5 separate regions of the Homo sapiens genome follow, and all the other regions are linked to region 1. Evidence: promoter capture Hi-C in 16 types of primary human blood cells and fetal thymus (Javierre and others, 2016). All regions are on one chromosome and are shown on one strand. Each heading gives the region's core, a stretch centred on a gene start or on the middle of the fragment in contact. The rest is flanking DNA. Distances are from core to core; before and after follow the strand shown. Region 1 holds the start of RIPK2 (receptor interacting serine/threonine kinase 2). Region 2 has its middle 12 kb from the start of PIP4P2. Region 3 overlaps PIP4P2 (phosphatidylinositol-4,5-bisphosphate 4-phosphatase 2). Region 4 overlaps C8orf88 (chromosome 8 open reading frame 88). Region 5 overlaps NECAB1 (N-terminal EF-hand calcium binding protein 1).

Region 1 (2,837 bases), core at 338-2,837:
AGATATAGGAGGAGGAGAAGAGAATGTTGTAATCATGGATGTTAACTCACTAAGAACTGAATGCTGGGCCTAGTTAAATCCCTGTAGGAAGTAAAATACACAAGACTAGTGACCCATTGACTAATACACAGTCACAGGTCTATGGCACGCGGTTGTAATGTTCTTCTGAAAACAGAAACTAATGCTAACCTTCCCTTAAAACCTGTACAAACCAATAAGTGAAAGCCATTTACAATTTCTGGCCATTTAACAGTCTTTTGGTTCAATTTATTGTGGCAAAAATAGCACACATTTCCTCTACTTAATCTTCCCTGTGAGAGAAACTGAGACTGGGAGAAACTGAACTGCTAGTATTGAGTTTGATATAAAACGTTCCTGACAACACATAATAAACCAAAACCAAAATAAAAACAATAAGAAGCAAAACATCCTTGATTCTAAAGCAGTGCGGTCCAATAAACATATAATGTGAACACCACCACATACAATTTAAAATTTTCTCGTGGCCACATAAAGTAAAAAGAAACACATAAAATGAATTTTAATCTTATATTTAACCCAAGATATCAAAAATGTTATTTCAGCATATAATCAATAAACAAATAATAAAATATTATAAGTTCTTTTTTTAATAAATACTAAGCATTCGAACTCTGGTATTTTACACTTAGGTCACACTTCAATTCGGACGGGCACATTTCAAGTGCTCAATAGCCACCTGTGGCTAAGAGCTACCTACTGGACAGTGCAGCCCTACAGCCCAATTTCAAAAATAAGGAAAAAACAAAGCAAACAAAACCCACACCCACTATATATAAACACACATCAATTTCAGTAAACCCAGCGTTTAGAGTTAGGCAGTGATTGCTGATTTTTGGAGTACGGAGCCAGAACGCCTAGGAGTAAGAGGGAAGGAGAGAAAGGGTAATGGAGAGATGTGTGGAGGAATGCAACTGCTGCATCTCCAGAGAAGCCTGTGCTCCCTACGGTGCCAGAGCTTGAAGGGTGGGTGCTCCCTATCTCCCAAGCTTGAAGGGCTCCCTAGAGGTGACGAGGTGAGGCCGGCCCCAAGCGGTCACTGCCATTTGGGCTCTAGAGCCCGCTTGTCAGGGGGCTTGAGGGGATGCAGGAGTTGAGGGCTCTTCCAGGGAACCCCAGTGACTGCCTACCTGTCGAGCAGCGGAGTGTGGATGTGCAGGTGCTTCACGGCCACCTGGACGCGCCAGTCTGCGTGGCGGGCGGACGACACAGTGCCAGAGGCGCCGCGGCTCAGGTAGCGCAGGTCGGCGAGTTTGTGGTAGGGAATGGTGGGCAGGGCGCTGCAGATGGCCTCCCCGTTCATGGTCCCGGGCGCTCAGGCCGGTTCCGGGTGTGCCCCCTGCTGCGGCGGCTCCCAAGGCTCCCACGCCGCGCTCAGGCGCCCAGATACGCCCCTGCACGAGCGAGGCCGGCAAGACCCTTTTTGCCCCGCAACACTAGGTCACGAGGGCGCCCATTCCCCGGATGGCCCACGCCAGCCGCTGCTTCTCCGAACCAGAGCTGACTTCTTTTCTAGAGACTGGTGCCAACGCCGTAGCGCCGCGAAAGAGCTTCCTCTCTCGCAGCCCCGGCCCTCCCCCCGGCGCGCGCAGCGACCAGCTCCGGCCGCCCGAGCTCCTCCCTCCCCAAACTTCGCAGGTTACGTCAGCGGCGGACGGCAAGGCGGGGAGAGGGGCAGCCCGCTCGCGGCCCTCCCGCCTGGCTCTCGCCTCGGCCTGCGGCCGGGATCCTCCGCCCGGGTCGCGCAGCGGAGGCCGAGGGCTGGGACGGGCGGCTGGGAAGTGGGAAAGGGAGCTCCTTTTGTCTTCTCTTCCCATCCCCCAGGTTTGGGAAAGTTTTCCTTTTGGGAAAGCCCCTCTCTTCAGCCTGCTGGCGGGTGTCGGATTGGTTAGCGACCACCGGCCCCCGCCTCCCCCAACAGGATTCTCCTTTGGGCCACAGGTCTTCCGGAAGTTGCCAAACCCCGGTAGCGGCAGCGTCCGGCTGGGGGCTTTATTAGGGGGCACCGGGGTCTGCTTTCCGACTCCCTTCCGACTCCGCGCCTGCGCAGGAAGCGATTTGGGGAGTGTTGTGAATTCCGAGGGCTCCACACTTAAGAGGTTGTACACTCACCTGTCTACCTGGACTCCAATTTCCATATTTCCAGCCACTTGAGGACTGAGAGGTGGATGATAAACCCTGTCATAGTGGAGCAAGTTCAGGTGTTTAACCGCTGTTATGGGGGATCTGCCTTTTCTCCCTCTTCTTTCTTACTTCCATAAGTATGTATGTGCAGAGATTGAAAAATAACCTTGAGAGAGTCCATCCATCTAACTCCAGGTAAGACTGCAAATATTTCTTTCTTATAAATCTGGGAGGAATGCAGTCAGTGTTTCATGCCAACCAAAAAAGACTGCAAACGTTTTTCCATCCTTCTGCCTTGAATACCTTTCTACTTAGATGACTATTTTGTAAGACGTGAGTGCAAATGTTATATACAATACCAACTCCATACTAGATGTTTAATTAATTCTAGGGATTCAGTAATAAGGAATGACTCGAACAGATTTCTGCCTACAGACAGCTAATGCTTCTTGTATTTTTGCATTACCTGAAATGAAAGTAGCAATGTTAGATTTTACAGTAGTGGGAGGTTGTAAACAATAGTATGTTAAACATTTTTGATCATTTATAATAAAATGTTCAGCACTAAACATATGGTCTGATACTCTGTGCTTTATTGCTTAATAAGCTTTTTTTTTTCTTTTCGAGAGGGAGTCGTGCTCTGTCACCCAGGCTGGAGTGTAGTGGCGCGATCT
Region 2 (2,837 bases), core at 196-2,695, 1.3 Mb before region 1:
GGACTTTGCAGATGAGATTAAGTTAAAGATACTGAGATGAAAAGGTTTTCTTGGATTATCCATGTAAATAATCACAAGGGTCCTTATAAGTGAAATGAGAAAGCAAGAGAGTCAGAGTCAGAGATTTGAAGATGCTTCATTGTTGGCTTTGAAGATGGAGGAGGGAGTCAGCCAGGAGGTAAGGAATGCTAATGGTCTCTTGAGGCCAGAAAAAGTAAGAAAATGGATTCCCCACTAGATATCCCACAAAGGAATGCAGAATTCCTGACTGCTTGATTTTAACCCAGTGACCAAGGTTAACCATTTTGGACTTCTGACCTTCAGAATTATAAGACAAATTTGCATTGTTTTAAGACACTAAGTTTGTGGGTAAGTCGTTATGGCAGCCATCGGCAACTACTACATCTTCCTAATGTATATAATACATATATATATATATATATATATGTAATTGGTAAATTAAAATCCCCACCCATTATGCAGGCCACTGTTAGAGACAGCTGAGTAGGATCAGTTTAGCTAGTCTGACTAGTTAGTGTTGACTAATGTGGCTAGGGTGATCGGTGAGATCAGTGAGAATATGTGACAAGTGAGGCTGGTAACAAACTGTCCAGGCAAACAAGGCGGTATCCCTCAGAAAGACTGAGTGACATGAGGCATATCAAGTGTCAGATGACCAAAGAGGGAGAGCGGCCTTCAGCGTGAATGTTCAATAGGTGTGAGAGGAACCAAGTGGGAAACAACACTCTACCCACACTTTCACTAAAGGTGAAAGAACAATGAGTAGAATGGCACACATCTGAATGCCATTTAATTTAAGAGTATCATGTACTCTGGGCTTAACATGAAGCAAGAAAGAATGAGGACAGGAATTCTATCAGAAAAGAAGACAGTTTGACATTTCATGGGCTGTAAATCACAGAGAATCTAAAGAAAGATTATATACAGAGACACCACATAGACAGTAAGAATGTTTTAAACACAGCAAACATTGAAAGAGAAACTACAAACTAGGAAAAAATATTCGCCTTATTTATTACAGGTTTATAACTTTCAAAAGTTGTCTGAGACTGCAGGTGTTGGGCACTTCATACAGGGTGTTGCAGCAGGGAGAATATCCAAAGAGAGTATTTTCTGGAAAACAGGAAACAAAGAGGCTTTCTATGACAAATTAACAATGTTGCCAGTTTGTCTGCTTTGGTCAGAAGGTATTGCAATCCTTTAGACAAGAGGTATCTGTGAGAGAGAACATGAGAGTGAGAGTCAGAGTGATTTGACCTGTTTGACTCCATTACCTTCTGTTCTTGGAACTGTTCGCTTAAAGAAGGAAGTAAAAGGAGTGGGTCAGTCTCTCAGTACCAGGAAACATAGATCAGTGTCCAGTCAAAGAAGAAAGTTTTACATTTCTCCATGGAGCAAAAGGTCCACATATTTAATTAATGAAGGTAAAGAAATTCTTACAATTCTTTCTATATATTTCTTTAATAGTTAGGAAATACACCTGCTGCTGTAATTGATAAACCCTGAAATCTCAGTGACTTAACACAATAAAGTATATTTCTTACAACACTTCAAAACCGGTGTTCTTAGTGGGCAACTCTCCTATAAGTAGTGATTTAGTTTGCCAAGATCCTCCCTTCTTGTGCCATTTTCACCATGTGACTCCTGTGGGCTCCTTTGGGGTTCTTTCTTTCCACTTAGCTTTGAGTAGAAAAGAGTGTGGAGGATCATACAAGGAAGGTTTTCATGGCCTACATGGTCTACAAGTAGTCTACATCACTTCCACTGATGTTCCACTACCCAGAATTTGGACATATGACTACCCCTAAGTGCAAGAATGGCTGAGAAATGTAGCTTATCTGGGTTTCCAGGAGGAAAAGAGAATGGATTTTATAAATAAGTAAGTAAAATTTTAAATAAGAATTATAATTAAAAATATTAAATGATAAATAGATGAACTCCCTAGTGGAAAAAAAATGGCCAATACCATTGACCAATAAAAATATTAAATATTCAGAATCATTAAGGATAAAACTAAGATACAAAAACATATTTCCCTATTAAACTGTCAATATTAAAAATAATGATAATACCATGTTATTTTCCTATGCTGCTGAGAAATAGTCTCAGACGCTGTTTCAAAAAAAAATGTGTAAAAATGTTTTTTCAGGTTTCAGAGGACAATTTGACAGTATATATCTGAAAGACTTTTAAATGGGTATAGTCTTTGATCTAGGCTTCCAATTCAAAAAAATTATCAAGAATAAATAATCAGAAAAGTATTCAAAGATTTCTGTCTTTCATATTCTACATCACATCGATGAGCAAATCATGTTAGATCTAGCTTCATAATATGTCCAGAATCTGATCCCTCTTTCAACCTCCACTCCTTTGTTACCTATAATCCGATTTTCACATAGTAGTCATTGTAATCCTTTTAAAACTTATGTCAAATAAGGTCACTCTTCAAAAGCCTTTAAGAGCTCTATAGTTTTCTCATCTCAGAGGAAAAGCCCAACTGGCCCCATGTGATCTACCCCATCGCAGTCCATGACAAACTTCTCTGGTCTAATATCTACTTTCTACCCCTTCTCTCCTTGCTCCCTTTCATCGGGCTACACAGACTTCATTGCTGTTCCTACACGAACCAAGCATGCTTCCTCTTCAGGGCTTTGCTGTTGACCGTCCACATTTCTGCTTCACTGTCTGTGAAGCTGATCCTATTCCCTCCATGTAAAAAGCAATGTGCTCCCTCCACCCACCTTTCCTATTTCCTTCAATAATATTTATCTCCATCTGATATACATCCTTGGTAAATTGAATTTTGCTTATCTTCC
Region 3 (2,837 bases), core at 140-2,639, 1.3 Mb before region 1:
TTTAATCTATAATAATCCAATTATTAATCATTTAAATTAATAATCTTATTCTAATTATTGTAGGTTTACTAACTGTGGAATCTCCAGAATTACAAGTCCCATATAAGAGGAGATGGAGCTACAAGTAAATGTTTCCTTGAGGTAAAATCTGAGAGAAAGGGAAAGGCCAAAAGTACAAGAAATAATCTGTCTAAATCAGTTTAAGGCTGAAGTAATGGATAGAACATTGAAATGAAAGGCCAGGAAGCACTGTTTATTGTGGCAATTAGGCTGCAGCATCTGTCATTCTATTGATCTCTTGGATTGATTCCATTTATCTGGTGGGCCAGGCCAGTGTCCCCTGACTACTTCACCTCTCTCAGTGCATTATTTGGAGAGAGTTGTCTTCTATATAAAAGAAGCCCTTGTTTTCCATCAAGCTGCACTCCCCTGCTAGAACCTTAGCTCCTCTGCAAGGAGAGTAGGGTTAATGTATTAGGTTGGTGCAAAAGTAATTGCGGTTTTTGCTATTTGAAAGTCGTAGCAAAAACCGCAGTTACTTTTGCAGCAACCTAATACTTGGTGTTATTTTTCCAAGACAAATAGATATGTCTAATAAATTTTAGTGACTCGCTGATTTATTAATTAATTCAACCATTGAATAAACATTTAGTAAGCATCATCATAGACCAGGCATTATGACAAGCGCTGGTGAAGTAGCTGTGGACAAACCAGATGTGCCCCTGGCCTCGTGGAGCTTATGGTCTCTCTTATATTAGATTTATAATCTTCACTGCTTGTTCTGTCCATGTCCCTCCACTTCCCAAGCCTCCAAAAGAGTAGATTTGAGCATATTTCTGTCATTGAAGGCGTTTTTTTTTTGGCAGATTAAAAATTATATAGTACAAATCTTAGAAGAAAAATTCACAGGGTTTTACTGGCTCTAATGCCCTTTTAATGATTGTTAAGATCACCCTCTGAAATTTTCTTAGGAGATTTCTTTGAGCAAAGCTGAGGAGTGTATGGGTTGGTGTCCTTTTATGTAGTGTAGCAATATGTCACTTCCTCCTCTCCCCCTAATGCCCTTGTTTTCTTTATAAAACTGTCTTGCATTTAAGTTTCCTTTCTATCATACTGTGTAAGATAGAGACCTGGGATTACGAGAGAACTATGTAATGTTACTGTACAACTCAAGGAAAAGGCCAGAGAGGAAGCAACTTTTGTTAATAATGCTACTGCAAATAATTATTAAAATAATATTCATTATCATATACCAGGCAGTGTGTCTTGAATTTCTAGTGAGGTACATATTCTTTCCCCAAGAATAATGTCTTTATTGAGATCTGACAAAGTAATCTGCAAATTGCAAGACCTTAAGTATATTGTTGACTCATTGTTTCTTTAACATGTTTTTTTCTTCTTGATTAATACATTACAGGTCACTCTGGATCACGCTCAAATTCTTTTCATGGATTTAAAATTATTTTTATAATTTAAGACATGTACAGCTTCTTTTGAATTTCAGTGTTTGGCAGTGTTCTGTTATAAGCCTCCCAGAAACATAAGCATATCGTCATTTCAAAGTGGCCTCTTTCAGAGCCTTGGCTGCTGCAGAAATTTGTCTTATGAATCATTTGAACGAATACCACTTGTTGCTAATCCTTAGCAGTCTGAAAAAAATCCTATATTATAACCCAAGGATCAGGTAGAAATATGTGTATTTTAAACATACCAAAATGTTTTATGCTCTAATTCTTTTTAAAATATCACAAAGTTTAGGACCTAATACAGTGGATAGAAAACCTTTATTTCAAAAATAGCTCTTATTATGCTTAGCTATTGTGATTATATTTTATAGTGTTACAGAAGCCTCTTGAGATACCAGTTCTCTTTCGTGCTTCAATCATATGTTAGAGTGTGGCCCTTTCTAAATGTCCCAAGACAAAACTTTACCTTGGAAAAGTCTTCTATTCCTGTAGTTGAGATAGTTACAGAAAGGGGTTAGGCAGTCTCCTTTAGAAATCCCATTCCAGAGTAGTATATCAGGATTCCTTTTCTCAGACTTTTGTAACAAATATACACTTCTGGTAGATACTTGATTTTGAAAGTGGGCCTCCACCCTTCACTCACTCACTGAGTCAACCTTAGGACTCTCAAAAAAAACACTGTGTGTGTGTCTTTGTATTATGGGAATTTTCAAACATACACAAAAGTAGTGTGAAACTATGACCTTCCATGTCATTATATTCATCAGTTATCAACATTTTGCTACTTGTTTCATCTGGTTCCCCATTCTTTTTGTGGTGGTTGTTGTTATGGTTTTTGAAGTTTTTAATCCCACATACTACATTTTTTTACTCATAAACACTTTGGTGCATTTCTTACATTTTTAATGGTAGGTAAATTTTGAGACTAAAAATTGTTATATTTACTTTATTTTTGTTTTGTGTCTGAAATTAGCATGGTTCCCATTTTTGTTCCATGCTGAGAAGTTTAGTTTTCTTAGGTTCATTTTTGTTTCTTCTTGACTTCCTCCAACACCTTGTTTTATTCTTGTCATAGCCAGCAGTCATTATACTGGTTCCAATATAAAGACAGAGCATGACAGCTACATAATTTATATGTATGGATAAGCAATTTTAAAACTTTGCTTTCATCGACCATTTTTATTTCCTGGGAATCAGATCACTTGTGTAAAATTTTTATTGTAGGCATAAATTACCACTCTCCTGTTAGAGACTGTATGAATTTACTAATAGGAATGGAGTGACATTTTGAGTATAGATTAGTAAAAGGAAACTGGGTTATTGGGATAGACCTAGGCAAACATGATTTAGATTTTATCAGAGTTAAGAATT
Region 4 (2,837 bases), core at 172-2,671, 1.2 Mb before region 1:
TTGATTCTGACAGTTTTTATGAGCTTACTTGTTGTTTTTGTGGAGTGAAAGACTTTTAGAGTTCTCTACTTGGCTATTTTCCCTGACTTCACTTACCTCCATTTCTTGAATTTTATGTTTTCTTCTTTATTGATTTATGTCCTCATTTTGCTCAAGTACATTCTCCAGGAGTTTCGTGAAAAAAGGGTATTGGGTTGGTGAATTCTTTGAGTTTGCATATTTGAAAATATCTTTATTCTGTTCTCACACTTGATTGATGGTTTGGCTACGTAGAATGTTCCAGATTAAGGATGAACCTCAAAAATGTTAAATGAAAGAAGCCAGACCCAAAATTTTTGGTAAGTTAATTTTTCCTCGATGTATTTCAGAACTGTGTATTAGGAACAACACATTAATAATTGTTACCTGTTAGTTGATAGGATGTAAGGATAGTAATTCAACCCTTCTTATTCCTAGTCTTTTCATGTGTATCTTTTTATATCCATTTACTTTCAACTTATATGCCTTTATATTTAATATGTGTCTCTTGCAGACAGCATATAATAGGGTCTTCTTATTTTTTAAATCCACTCTGTCAATTTGTAGTCTTTAATGTAATGTTTAGGGGGTCAGTAAATTATGGTTTACAGACCAATTCCTGTTTTTATAAATAAAAATGTATTGAAACATAGCCACACCCTTCATCTATATATTATCTGTGGTGGCTTTTGCTTTTAACAGTAATACATATTTCTTAAAATAAAACTTAGAGAAAAAAAGGAATCTGTTATACTTACCCACCTATTTACCATCTCTTTTGCTCTTCATTTCTGAACAGTAAAGTTTCCATCTAGTATAATTCCCTTCAGCCTGTAGAAATTCCTTTAGCATTTCTTGAAGGTCACATCTGCTAGTGATGGATTCTTTCAGTTTTACTTTATCTGAAAATGTCTTTCCTTCACATGTATTTCTGAGGGTTTTTTCCCCCCCACTGGACATGAAATTCTGGGTTACCGTTCTTTTCTTTTAGCACATTAAAAATATTATTCCATTGTCTTCTGGGACAGCATATAATCTGTCTTGGTGATTGTTTCTGGTAATCATTTCTGATTTGAAATCTGCAGATATTTGAAACATTGTTCTCCTTGAAGATAGGGGCCCTATCTTGGGTCCTATTCATTATTACCTAGCACAGTTCCTGATACATAGTAAGATGTACAATAAATGTTTCTTGAATTTATTTTTATTGTGTTAAGTTTTTAGTATTGATTGAGACTTGATAGACTCATTAAAGTAACATTTTGGCAGATCTGAATTGCCCAATAGTTATTACTGTGGTTATATTTTACACAAGATCATTTTACTAGACCTGAATAACCAGATGAAAAAAGCCATGCATTTCCCATTTTCTTAATTATATTTCTTTCATTGTTTCCTTGGTTACTTGGTTTTCTTTCTATGTAAAAGGAGAATTGGAGGCAGTAGATGCTTGTCAAAGCCTTTTTTCTCCTTCTCTTTTGCATAGACACACGACTCATCATTTTATATAATGAATAGAGGACATCCAGAAAGAAATGAACCAAAAAGTGATCTAGACAGCCCTACATTTCCTAACATTATATTTGATGTTTAATATCTACAGAGAGAATTAAATACAGCAGAGATTTCCTGTTGAAGCTCTCAAGTGTTTCCATCTGCAGAAAAAAACCAGACTTTCTGCCTGATCATCCCATTGTACTGCAAAAACCAGTAAGTAGTTTTCTAAGTTTGTATTGTAATATTATATTACAAAATATTTTTCTTTAACATTTTCATCAGACTCTACCTCTAGATTTTTAACCTTCCTTATTATAAGATATAAGTAATTCAGAAAACTACAAAAATCTAAAGATATAACCAATTATTATAAAGTAACTCTGTTCAAAAAATAGAATGGAATAGCTGTATTTTGTTTAAGAAATATTTTTAATGGAAAGGTCATGAAAATATTATCCCATACTCTAAAAGTTTTATTTTTTCAATTAAATTATATTGTCCACCTGGAATTAATTTTACTCTATGATGTGAGGTGGGCATCAAGTTTTACCTTTTTCTACATAGATATCCAGTCATTTTAAAAATATTTATTGAAAGGGTACTTCTCTGACATCTTTGTGGCAATGTATGCATGGTCTGTTAATGGGCTATCCATTCTGTTCAATTAGTCTTTTTATACATTATAACAAATCATCTCATGTATTTTTCTTTAACATGTCTTTGCTATTCTTAGCCCTTTATATTTCTGTGTTACCTTATCAAATTCCATCTAAATAAATACACATAATAAATACATACATGCATCTCTTAGGATATTCATTGGAAAGGACATGGATTTTGTCATCAGACATGGCTTCAAATTGTAGCTCCATTCTGTGTACCGGTAGTTCGAACTTGGACAAGTCACTTAACCTCATTGAATTGCTGATAAGGATGATAAGTTTTGCAATTGCTGATAAGGATGATAATCTCTGGCTGTTAGGATTAATAAAATAATGCATGAGATTACTGAGTATGATACCTTTCTCTCATTATGCTTTTAGTAAATGATTCCCATTCTTTGTGGTCTCTACTTACATTTGACTGGAATTTAACTTCCTATTAGAGTTTTCGTAAATACCTTTATATAGGTAAAGGCAGCTAGGACTCTTCTGAAATGAGATTCAGAATATAGGTATACTGAGAACAGTTCGAATGGGAGATAAACACTACTACCTTCTATCTCCATTTTTGGTATTCTAATTCTTTGGAATTCATAGTATTTTTTTCCTCAAATTATAATTTTTAAAAAACATTATGTTGTTCATAGTTTATATTAATAT
Region 5 (2,837 bases), core at 204-2,703, 1.2 Mb before region 1:
AGTGGCATTTGATTATCAATTGATACAGGTAGAAAATTGAATTTGATTAACTGGTACAACTGAAAAATTGAATGTAGACAGACACACTGGCATAACATCTATACCATATATATTCCATATGGGTGTAGTGATTCCCTGAGGCTCATTCCATCTGATATAGTCTACATTTTGATAATTCCAGTAAAAGAAATTACCTGAAAAATCAGCAATAAGAAGTGAACGAAGAATTGTATGAAACAAACCAATCTTGCAAAGTAAACAGAGAGGCTGAAAATCTATCTTACAGGAAAAAGATGCTCTCCTTTCCTCTACTTCACAGCAGGAGCTGATGGAGCAATTTATTGTGGTTATTGAGAGAATGGAATTTGCAGCAGGCGGCACAAATCTATCCACTCTCTCACTCCCCCACAGCCTGTTTCCCTTTCCCTGGGGCTGTTCTAGTAGCTCGAGGTCATTTTCCCAACACCCATTAAAGTAGTGTTTCTGAACCTAAAAAATAAACTTGTGCGCCTTTTTTATAAATATAAAACATGCACTCAATCCCTGGAGATTGTAATACACTGAAATAGACTTTATCTTCTCTGTATCCTCATTAAAAAGAGTTTACTGAGCTCTATTTTGGGAAGTTTACACTGTGAACGGTGTATATATAGGTACTGTTTGCATTTTTCTTTTTTTTTGAAACAGAGTCTCGTTCTGTCATCCAGGCTGGGGTGCAGTAGCGCGATCTCGGCTCACTGCAACCTCCGCCTCCGGGGTTCAAGCGATTCTCCTGCCTCAGCCTCCTGAGTAGCTGGGATTACAGGCACATGCTACCATGCCCAGCTAATTTTTGTATTTTTAGTAGAGACGGGGTCTCATCACGTTGGTCAGTCTGGTCTCGAACTCCTGACTTCGTGATCTGCCTGCCTCGGCCTCCCAAAGTGCTGGGATTATAGGCGTGAGCCACTGCACCCTGAATTTTTAAATATTCAATTTTATTTTCAAATGAGTGGGCTCTTAAAAACTACACATATTCCCACCTTTGCAAGTCTTGAGTCACTGAAGTAAAAAGGACTAAAATGGGGTTTTGATTTGTGCCCTCTGAGTCTGGCGTGAAATAGAATAATAAAAATAATCATGGAAACACAGCATTTCCTGTGTTCTTGTTTCAAAGGCACTACTGGAAGATGATGAGCTGTTAGTGGCACTGAGGAAGTACTGTACTCATACTCTAGAGAGGAGGTCAGCCACCCAGACAACCAGGAAACAGTAGTAAACGCAATAGTGACTTCAGCTCACGTCTTCAGTGGATGGGAAGCATTGTGCTGAGCACTGCATATGGACTGTCTCACTGAATCCTCCCAACCATCTCATGAGCCTCTTGAGGAGGAAACTAAGGCTTAGAGCCAGTGAGGGTCTTTCTCAAAACCACAAAGCTAGTAAAATTCCATGTTTATTTCCAGAGCCAGACTTCTTAGCTAGAGAAATATTCTGCTGGGGTATGAATAAAATATAATTAATTGAACACTGAGAGGAAAAGCAAAACACCCAGAGACATGAAGTATCTGTTTATGCACACATGTACACACACATACACAAACACACACACATTTTCTAAAAACCTTCCCAAAGCAACATTTGAAGAGCATTATGAAATATAGTTTAAGCAAGCTCATAAGGTAGGGTTAGACTTGGTTGTGGAAGTTTTCTAAAAGCAGATGAATTTGGACCTGGGCTCTGAACTTGAGGCAGTGCATGGGCTGGCAGAGACTTGCAGCTGGGTGCACATTTCTGAGAGGAAGAATAGCCAGGTCTGAGGCACAGTGGGGAACAAACAGATTATATCAGAAATTCTATCTGTGCATCACCGAGGCAGAGTGTTTAGATGAGGGAGAACAAATAATAGTAGTGATATGGATTCCTGGGTCTGTCAGTAGGATTAAATATAGAGTCAGGACAAATGTCTAGCCTTTGATAAGATACTCATTAGAGAGTTACTTTAGGTTCCCAGTTAAGGGAATTCTATGATAACTGTTTCCAGAAAATTATTATAGTAACTATTTATTGAACCAGTTGGAGTGAAAAAATTGAAGATGAGGAATAGTATATTTTAGTAGCTTGAGATATCCGAAGCCTGAGCTGGGTGGTACCCATGGAAAGAGGAAAGAAAAGATCTGCTGCTGCTTCATTTTCTTTTAATGACCAAGGCCTGAAATCATGACTTCAGGGATGCCTGCAATTTCCTAATGGCTGAAATGGTCATTAGGCCACAGGGCGTACTGCCAAGGGAGCAATCACAGCTAGATGTCCTAGAGTTGGCGCCTCATCTACCAGAGATGATTTTAAATCAGAGTGTGGGCTGCCTGGATGCAAAAGGGAATTTCAACTTATTTGAAATTCAGTCTCTTCATTCAAGTTGTTCTATTTCATTTTACTTGGTGCCCCAATGATCAGACGACACGGGGTTTAAAGATTAGACGACACGGGGTTTAAAGATTAAAGAGAAAACATTCAGTTAAAGGCAGCAAATGACATCACCCAGGTGGAATGCTCTGTATAATTTAATGTGAGGATTCTCAAATATCTGTCTTCTAGACCCCCAGCCTTGTCTAAAGTAAGAAATGCCTTCACTGTATTCCCAGGCTGCCAAAGGCCTAAGGTGCAGGAGTCGGAGCACTTACCGCAAGCATCCACTTTGGGAGGAAGCACTCTCCACGTAGTGTTTCAGAGCGAGCTGGAATTCTTCCAGGTCCTCTTCTATCACAGACATCTGCCGCTGCACAAGCATGATGTGCTGCCAAGGAAGGGGCGAGGGTCACTGCGTTGGCTGTCACGGAGCCCGATTTAAGCTGACT

What was found. Contacts are between HindIII fragments. The CHiCAGO score rates a contact against its expected background, and 5 or more counts as called.
Region 2: a contact is called between a fragment that was not itself captured here and the fragment with the promoter of RIPK2 in region 1, in 4 of 17 cell types (monocytes, total B cells, M0 macrophages and 1 more). The highest score is 8.9, in monocytes.
Region 3: a contact is called between a fragment that was not itself captured here and the fragment with the promoter of RIPK2 in region 1, in 2 of 17 cell types (M0 macrophages and neutrophils). The highest score is 9.1, in M0 macrophages.
Region 4: a contact is called between a fragment that was not itself captured here and the fragment with the promoter of RIPK2 in region 1, in 2 of 17 cell types (total B cells and naive B cells). The highest score is 10.1, in total B cells.
Region 5: a contact is called between a fragment that was not itself captured here and the fragment with the promoter of RIPK2 in region 1, in 2 of 17 cell types (total B cells and neutrophils). The highest score is 8.8, in total B cells.

Annotation. Positions count from the first base shown.
Region 1 is chr8:89,756,566-89,759,402 of GRCh38, reverse strand. RIPK2 (receptor interacting serine/threonine kinase 2) reads right to left here and starts at 1,587. Exons shown (of 11, transcript NM_003821.6): 1 at 1,170-1,587. The coding sequence starts at 1,342. It overlaps PARAIL (palmitic acid regulated anti-inflammatory lncRNA), which reads left to right and starts at 1,692. Exons shown (of 5, transcript NR_125822.1): 1 at 1,692-2,358. RefSeq lists an enhancer at 1,112-1,181 and a silencer at 1,722-1,841. The HindIII fragment of the contact is 1,742 bases long and covers 1,031-2,772 here.
Region 2 is chr8:91,051,587-91,054,423 of GRCh38, reverse strand. No RefSeq gene overlaps it. Among named protein-coding and RNA genes, the nearest start is that of PIP4P2, 12 kb to the right of the region's middle. The HindIII fragment of the contact is 4,163 bases long and covers 1-2,837 here.
Region 3 is chr8:91,021,593-91,024,429 of GRCh38, reverse strand. All of the region lies in intron 1 of PIP4P2 (phosphatidylinositol-4,5-bisphosphate 4-phosphatase 2), which reads left to right. Among named protein-coding and RNA genes, the nearest start is that of PIP4P2, 18 kb to the left of the region's middle. The HindIII fragment of the contact is 3,484 bases long and covers 1-2,837 here.
Region 4 is chr8:90,959,633-90,962,469 of GRCh38, reverse strand. C8orf88 (chromosome 8 open reading frame 88) reads left to right here. Exons shown (of 6, transcript NM_001190972.2): 5 at 1,622-1,728. Among named protein-coding and RNA genes, the nearest start is that of C8orf88, 24 kb to the left of the region's middle. The HindIII fragment of the contact is 3,382 bases long and covers 1-2,837 here.
Region 5 is chr8:90,940,725-90,943,561 of GRCh38, reverse strand. It overlaps NECAB1 (N-terminal EF-hand calcium binding protein 1), which reads right to left. Exons shown (of 13, transcript NM_022351.5): 10 at 2,664-2,776. All of the region lies in intron 1 of LOC105375634 (a long non-coding RNA gene), which reads left to right. Among named protein-coding and RNA genes, the nearest start is that of C8orf88, 43 kb to the left of the region's middle. The HindIII fragment of the contact is 7,402 bases long and covers 1-2,837 here.